Regions from separate parts of the Homo sapiens genome. Here region 2 is linked to region 1. The links are contacts of gene promoters, found by promoter capture Hi-C in blood cells and fetal thymus (Javierre and others, 2016). All regions are on one chromosome and are shown on one strand. The core of a region is centred on a gene start or on the middle of the fragment in contact, and the rest is flanking DNA. Distances in the headings are between cores, read along the strand shown. Region 1 holds the start of JADE2 (jade family PHD finger 2). Region 2 has its middle 39 kb from the start of PPP2CA-DT.

Region 1 (4,241 bases), core at 575-3,074:
GCAAATGTGTTCACAACATTCCATCGGGGAATCTTCTTAATTGTCACATAAATGTCATCTTATGTAAATTGAATATTTATCTTCCCATGGAAGGGGGTGGAGGGGAAAGGAAGAATAAACAATCTTCAGTCTTGGAGAGGGAAGGCGACTCCGGTGTCCATTCACAACTCACCCACGTGCCTTCAAAGCCAAAGGTGAGCTGAAAAATTATTGGATAATCTGAGGGGCAGCCGACCATGAGGGGGAAGAAAAAGTTGGCCACGATGCTTTGGGGATGTTGGGCCAGGCTCCCCACAACCTCCTCCCGAGGCCAGACCCACCCCCTCCCCAGCTAGAGGCATTCCGAGGAGGTTGGAGCTTGACCCCCGATTCCTCCCCAACCAGGAGGCCAGTCCTTCTCCTTCCTCGAGAGAAGGTGAGCTCGGCGGGCGCAGCGGGTTGGGTGGGTGTGGCCCGCGGCTCCGGGAACAGACCCAAGGCCCCGCCACCGCCGGCTAGCAGCCCGACAGCCCGCCCGCCTGGCGAGCGCAGGCTCTTCTTCCAGAAACTGCGAGGATCCGAGCGTACTGTTTGTGCACCACAAGGTCAAGTCGGGAAGTGGAGCCGGAGGAGGAGGGGCGAGGAGGCGAAGGGTGGGGAGAGGGGCGCCCCGCTTCCTCGCCATGTGCCAGCCTTTGGAAGTTACCCCTCGGTTTTTAACCCTTTCGGGGTAATGGGAAGGAAGAGCAAGGAGGAAGGGGTCGCCCCGGGGCAAAATCCTGCTGGGGCCAGGATGTGCAACCACCCACCCACCCGCTCATCACTGCCTTCTCCACCCCCCGGAAATGCGGGGCAGCGCTAGGCGCCAGGAGGCACCCGGGAGGGGGGAGGGGGCGACGAGCCCAATGGGGACCCTCTCTACGGACCGCCCCTCTTTTCTTGAGGTCGCCTACAATTTCAAGTTCCCCCGCCCGGAATGTTAGTTTTCCATTTGGAGTGGGTGCGGGGAGGAGGGCCGCGCCCCCTCCCCAAGACTCGCGTTCGCCCCTCCACTCCCCTCCTGCCAGCACTTTCTGCTCACTTCTGGTGCTGCAAAACGCCACGCAATTTATTCGATTCGCATTTTAAAACCAGCGATTCAGAAGCAGGGCCTAGGGCGAGGGTCTTCCAGCGCTGGAGCCCCGGGGGGCGGGGTGCTCAGTGCAAACCTCGTTCCCTCCGCGAGTGTCGCCTCCAGGCTGTTATTTGCAAAGAAACGTCTTTTTGACGCAGGGAGAAATGGCAAATTTTAAGTACGTCATTAATATGGCGCCAAAAGATTTTTTTAAGTATAAGCTCGCTTTTTTTTTTTTTTAAGGTTGCGGGGGGCGCCGCCCGGGTCTGGGGCGCGTAGGGGGCGGGGTGTGAGCAGAAAGTGTGAGTGAAAGAGTGGAGGGGCGGGGTATGTGTGTGAGTGTGTGAAGTGTGAGCAGACCTGATGGGACTTGCACGGGCGCAGCCGCCGCTCGGGCCCGGCCCTGGGGACAGGGCGGGCTAGGGGCGCCCCAGAGTCCATGGGGAGTCCGGGCCCAGGGTGCCAGCAGGCGTGGTGGTGGGGCTGCGAGGGAGGGCACCCTTCCCCCACGGGGCCCGCAACGCTACCTGGACTCCCCGCCGGAGCCAAACAACTGGGCGGGGGGTTGGGGGGGCGGCGACGGGGGTGTCGGGAGCGGAGATCCGAGTGAATAAGAAAAAAGTGGCTACTCCCCCTCCCTCGCTCCTCCTGCCCGCCCCCACCCCACCCCCACCCCAACACATTTTTTTTTTCTAAAGAGATCACAAGGAAGTCTTGGTTTAAAAAGAAACAGAAACATACACAGGGGGTTGGTGAATGGTGCCGACCGCGGCCATCGCAGTTGGAGGCTATTTTTTGGGGGGGGTGAGTAGCGTCCATGGAGTTACTTTGCGCCCACTCCTAGCGGCACCGGCTTAGGTCCTGCGGGCCGACCGTCCCCGGCGGGGGGCGTGGGGCCTGGGACGCCGCGGGCCCGGCCGCCTCCCTCGCCGCGACCCCGGATGGATGCGCGCCCCCCGCCCTCCCGCGCCGGCCCCAGGAGCTCCCGGCTTCGGGAGCATCCTTCCCGCGCCGGTCCCTGCAGCGGCGCGTAGCCGAGGGCAGCGCCCGTCAGGGGGGCACCGCGGAGCAAGGTAAGATCCAGCCCCCGGCGGATGGGCCCTGCGCATCTCCACGACGTTATTTGGCGTTTTTGCAACAGATCTGCCAGCGCTCTTCGCTCCCTCGCTCTCTCTTGCTCGCTCGCTCCCTCTCTCTCCTGCTGGCTGCCTGTTCTAGGAAGCCAGCGCGGAGAGGGGGGGGATGCACAGCACAGGGGAGAGAGATTGCGCATGTTGGTCAGTCGTGTTTTAAAGAGTACAGTGCGGGGAGGCTGAGAGGGGCGCATGCAACAACAACTTTTGGAAGGGTGAGCTTGGCGACCTTCTTTATTAATGACTGCGGCAAAGCGCCCCCGGGCCGGCGAGGGGGCGCGGGCGGGCGGGGGCGCGCCAGGGCTGCAACTTCCCCGCGGGCTCCGGCCGGGCGTAGGGGCTGCGGCGGGAGATGGGTACGGTGGGGAGGTCGAGCGGCCCGGGCGGGGGCTCCGAGAACCTGGAGCTATCTGCCCTCCTGTCTCCCCGAGTTTCATTTTGTTGATACGCAGCACGTCCGGGCGCCGAACCGGGCTGAGCCGGTGCACATGACCTCGCGCTGGGCTCACGTGCAGCCGGTCCGGTCCCAGACACCTTCCGGGGGCCACCGCCTCCGCCCTGTCGCCCCCTCTCCCGGCCCGGTGCACGCGGGCGCTGCACGCGGGGGCAGCATGCTCGGCTCCTGGGGTTGGAGGCTCTGCACAAATTAGACAGTTTTTTTGGAGGGGCGGGGGACACCCTTTCCAGGTGAGTGTGGAGGGTGCGGAGCCTCGGCGCCAGGGGTGAGGACTGGGGTCGGGGGCAGCCTCCACCTCCGGGGCCGCGCGGTAGTCCAGCTGGGGAGAGGCGCTGGGAGAGTGGAAATGTACCGGCGGCGGCCGGAGCGGCGGGTGCGCGCCCGCGGGGCGACGGCAGGGGGCGTGGCCCTTGTTTACCTTCTCCCAACTCTGCCGGTTCGCGTCCCGCTTCAGGGACGGATCCGCAGTCCCCAGCCCTCTGCCTAGGGCCCTGCACCATGGGTGGTACCAGGAAGATGCCGGCTTGTGGCGGACCCCGTTTGGGACGCACACACCTGACTCTCAAATGAGTGACATTGCAGCCCCCGCCCCCACCTAGCGCTGCTGCAGTCCCTTTGCCGGATCCCCGGCCCCGCCCCGCCCCCGGCAGTGGCATCTTCCCGGCCTCACCTCCTTCCTCCCTCTCCCTCCCTTCTTCCCACCCACTCGCCTGCGCCTGCGGAGCGGCGCCCGCCCGCCTCCTCCCCGCCTGGGTGCAGACTTGTGGCTCCCCATGGTTTCTTCCCGCCCATCCCTGGGTCCTGAGACATCCTCTCCTCTCGGCCAAGGGACGAGAGGGGTCAACTTGGCGATTCGCAGCTGTTCTGCCAGAGGATGGGGTTGCCTGCGAGACAGCCAGGAAGGCTTCACTCTAGCTTCCAGAGGCCCAGCCCTGTCCCCTACTACACACAGCTACCACCCCACCCGCCCCTGGGGCTCGGCTGCCCTTCCCGGTGTCTCTTAAACCCCTCCCCCGACCTGGGTGTTAAGCCCACCCACCTCCCGGCGCCGCCCCCGGTCGAACAGCCTCTTGCCCTTCCTTCGCCTGGGCCGGAGCCCCCCGCAGCCTCCTCCGGCTCCTCCTCCCGGCTCCGGCGGTCGGAATCACGCCGGCGCGCCTCCAGCCTGCGGTCCCGCGGACTGCCTCCAGGGGCGGGCTGGAGGCGCGCGCAACTCCCCTCCCAATCCCCTCAGCCACTGCCGCTGGCCTGGGCACTTTTTTACCAGCTTGGCTGCTGGCCTCTTGCTGGAGGCTGGGGGAGGTGAAGGGTCACTGGGTGTCTTTGCCGTATGCCGAAGGCACACTGCGGCCGGCGATTCTGGTCTCTGCAGATTTCCAAACCTCGCCGCTGCGTCTAGCACCCCTGGGTCATCTTCTGCAGGATCCCGAGGCACAAAGTTGTATCCCGGGTCAGAGTTTGTAGGGGGTCATCGAGAGGTGTCATGTTTCCATTCAGAGCGGTTCCAAAGCGTCTAGGAAGGGGCTGAGTGGGACCTGCTGCCTTGCCTTTGTTGGAA
Region 2 (4,241 bases), core at 903-3,402, 260 kb before region 1:
GAGTCCCTGACTTCCCGCAACAGGTCAGGAGTTCGAGATCAGCCTGACTAATATGGTGACACCCCATCTCTACTAAAAATACAAAAATTAGCTGGGCATGGTGGTGGGCACCTGTAGTCCCAGCTGCTCAGGAGGCTGAGGCAGGAGAATTGTTTGAACCTGTGAGGTGGATGTTGCAGTGAGCTGCGATTGTGCCACTGCACTCCAGCCTGGGTGACAGAACAACACTCTGTCTCAAAAAAAAAAAAAAAAAAGGAAGAACAAAGTAGAAGCATGTGTCTAACCAGACGTCAGGATTCATGTTAAAGTTGTAATTACAAAGTAGAAGCATGTGTCTAACCAGACATCAAGATTCACGTTAAAGATGTAATTAAGACACCATTGAATTGGTGTAAGGGTAAAAGACCAGTAGAACTGAATAAAGAGCATAAAAAACCCACACATGTACAGAAACTTAATATATGATGGTATTGTCAATAAATGGTATTGACAATAAGTGGGGAAAGGATAGACTCTTAAATAAATGAGACTGGGACAATTGGTAAGCCACACAGAAAAAGAGGAACTGAATTCTTGCCTCATACCAAGCACAACAAATAATTTTATATGTATTATGGACTTAAATGTAAATGGAAAACTTTAAGACTTTTAGAAGAATATCTTTGGCCGGGCACAGTGGCTCATGCCTGTAATCCCAGCACTTTGGAAGGCCGAGGCCGGCAGATTACCCGAGGTCAGGAGTTTGAAAGAGTCCAGAGGTTAGTTTTATTTGTATTTGAACTTTATCTAACTGGAAACATATAGTAAATATGTAAATGGGGCCAGGTGTGGTGGCTCACACCTGTAATCCCAGCACTTTGGGAAGCCGAGGTGAGCAGATCACCTGAGGTCAGAAGTTTGAGACCAGCCTGACCAACATGAAGAAACCCCATCTCTACTAAAAATACAAAATTAGCCAGGTGTGGTGGCACATGCCTACAATCCCAGCTACTGGGGAGGCTGAGGCAAGAGAATTGCTTGAACCCAGGAGGCAGAGGTTGCAGTGAGCCAAGATTGTGCCATTGCACTCTAGCCTGGGCAACAAGAGCGAAACTCTGTCTCAAAAAACAAACAAAACAAAACAAACAAACAACAACAAAAAAACCCTAACTTTTAGTGATAGATGTCAGATACTGGTTTCCTTTGATGGGAGGCATTGGCTGAAAGGAGGATAAGGGGAGATGTAATTATTTTATATCTTGCTTTGGGTGGTGGTTACATGGGTATATTTAATTGCCACAATTCATAAAGTTAAATAGTTAGGGCCCTTGCATTTTATTTTATATAAGTTTATGCCTTTAAAAGAAAAAATATTGTTAAGAAAATGAATAGACAGACATACCACGAATTGTGAGATAATATTTGCAGTGCGTATGTGTGACCAAAAACTTGTGTCCTGAATGTATCAGGAACCACTAACAATTAACAACAACAACAAAAATCCAATTTAAAATGTACAAAGTATTTGAACAAACAAAAAAGACATAAGAATGGCCAATAAGCATGTGAAAGGGTGCTCAACATCATTATTCATTAGGAAAATGCAAATTAAAACTTCGATTTAAAAAAAGCTTCAATGGGGTACCATTATACACCCACTAGATTGGATAAAGTGATAATATCAGATGTTTATAAAGCTATGGAGCAACTGGAACTCTCAGTCTTTGCTGGTGAGAGTGTAAACAATTATCTCATCTTAGAGAACTGTTTGGTAATTTCCCCTAAATTTAAACATACATTTTCCCTATGACCACACAATTCTACTTCTAAGTATTTTTCCAAGGATAACGAAGGCATAGATCCACAAAAATACTTGTGCAAGGAAGTTCATGGCAGCCTTAATCATAATAATTGAAACAACTCAAATGTGCATCAACTAGAGATTGGATAAAGAAATTGTATTATAGTCATGCACTAGAACATGACATAGCTATAAGAATGGCAGTAATCTCAGCACTTTTGTAAACTGAGGCAGGATGATCACTTGAGCCCAGGAGTTTGAGAACAGCATGGGTAACATGGCGAGACCCCATCTCTACAAAAAATAAAAAAGTTGGTCAGGCATGATGGGATGCACTTATGGTCCCAGCTACTTGACAGGCTGAGGTGGGAGGATTGCTTGAGCCCAGGAGGTGGAGGCTGCAGCAAGCTGTGTTCATGCCACTGCACTCCAGTCTGGGTGATGCAGCAAGACCCTGTCTCAAAAAAATTTAACAAAAAAAATTTTAAAGAGGAAATTAACAAGTAAGTGTTAACTGCAAACCATGGATGGATTTTGAAAACATTACACAAAACTATATGTATTATATTTCATTTATAGGATTCAAGGTACATGAAGTCCAAGAACAAGAAAAACTAATCTATGATGTCAGAAATCAGAAAATGGTTGCATTGTGGGTAAACAGAAAATTGACTGGCAACCAGCACTGGGGAAATGGAAGTGTTCTATACCTTATTTATGTGGTGTTACGTGGGTGAATACAATTGTCACGACTCATTCAACTGAACACTTAAGATCAATTTAAAAATTCTTTAAAATGAAGGTAAAATAAAGACAGGTACGGGAAAATACAAATGACTGGATTTGTCATCATATAGTCTGCATTAAAAGAAATACTAAAGAGTATTTTTTAGACAGAGAAAAATGACCCCAGTGTAAGCTTGGAAATGCAGGAAGGAATAAATAGTAACAAAAGAGTAAATGTTAACTGTCTAAAACAATAATAATGTATTGTAGGATTAATATATGTAAAATTTAAAAATGACATCATTAGCACATAAGTAGGGAGAGAAGCAAATAGAGTTGAAGTATTCTAAGGTATTTTCATTGTCTAGAAGGAATAAAATACTAATTTTATTAAACTCTGGTAAGTCACAGATGAATGTGACAAAAATCTGCTTATAATTGTCAAATATATATATCTCATAACACACTGATAAAGGGAAATATTGAATAATAAAAATACTCAATAATTTTTTTAAAAAAGCAGTAACAGAGAAAGAAAGGAAAACAGAATACATGGAACAAATAGAAAGTAAATAGCGAGGTGGTAGATATAAAACCAAACATATAAGTAACTATATTAAATAAAAAAGGTTCCAAATAAAATGCTCCAAAAAAAGAAATAGATGGTCATACTGGATAGAAAATTTAAAACCTAACCATATATTGCTTATAAAATAACCATTTATATGAAATATAAATATGTAGGAATATTCAAAGTAAAAGAAAACAAAAATAGTTACTATTCAAACTCTAAACAAAACAGGTAGCTATATGAATAACACATAAAGTAGACTGTAATGTGAGAAGCATTACTAGAAATGAGACATATTTCATAATGAAAAAAAGGTACGATTCACCAGAAAAATGCAACAAACCTAAACTGAATGCACCTAATAACATAGCCTTAAATGTATATTAAAAACTGATAGAATTAAATGAAGAAGTAGACAAATCCACAATGATGCTTGAAGAATTTTAACACATAACCCTCAATAACAAATAAACAGGACACATGCCAAAGAATCAGATATGGTATAAAGATTTAAACAACACAATTAACACTCTTGAACTGACACCTATAGAACATTGCACCCAATAATTACAGAATTATTTTTCAGTTCAAAAATTTACTATATGTTGGCACATAAAACAAATCAATAAATTTCAAAGGAATGAAATAATACAGAGGGATTCTCTGACCACACTCTAATTAAGCTAAATATTAATTTCAAAATTCCCCACGGGCTTGGAAACTGAGAATTACATTTCTAAATAACTCATGGAATAAAGTAGATGTCATATTGGAAACTGGAAGAAAAGCTTACTAAATAACACTAAATAATACTACATACAAAAACATGTGATACAGCTAAAGCTGTGCTTAGAAGTAAATTTATGCATTTAAATACTTTGCCTTTCGCTGCCTGACCGCAGCCATCATGGGTCACATGCATGCTCCTTGGAGGGGCTCTGCCCTATCGCTGCAGGATCCCCACTCAGCTGAAGTTGATACCTGATGACATGAAGGAGCAGATTTACAAACTGGCCAAAAAGGGCCTGACTCCCTCACAAGTCAGTGTGATCCTGAGAGATGCACATGTGTTGCACAAGTACGCTTTGTGACAGGCAATGAAATCTTAAGAATTCTTAAGTCCAAGGGACTTGCTCTTGATCTCCCTGATGATCTGTACCATTC

What was found. The method cuts DNA at HindIII sites, captures the fragments that hold promoters and counts their contacts. A CHiCAGO score of 5 or more calls a contact.
Region 2: a contact is called between a fragment that was not itself captured here and the fragment with the promoter of JADE2 in region 1, in 1 of 17 cell types (naive CD8 T cells). The highest score is 6.3, in naive CD8 T cells.

What each region holds. Positions count from the first base shown.
Region 1 is chr5:134,523,846-134,528,086 of GRCh38, forward strand. JADE2 (jade family PHD finger 2) reads left to right here and starts at 1,825. Exons shown (of 12, transcript NM_001388185.1): 1 at 1,825-2,166. LOC124901070 (a long non-coding RNA gene) reads right to left here and starts at 1,757. Exons shown (of 3, transcript XR_007058942.1): 1 at 1,621-1,757; 2 at 1,061-1,238; 3 at 1-199. RefSeq lists silencers at 595-914, 1,495-1,544, 1,565-1,784, 1,915-1,994, 2,025-2,284 and 2 more. The HindIII fragment of the contact is 6,085 bases long and covers 1-4,241 here.
Region 2 is chr5:134,263,428-134,267,668 of GRCh38, forward strand. It overlaps the pseudogene RPS13P6. Among named protein-coding and RNA genes, the nearest start is that of PPP2CA-DT, 39 kb to the left of the region's middle. The HindIII fragment of the contact is 1,089 bases long and covers 1,609-2,697 here.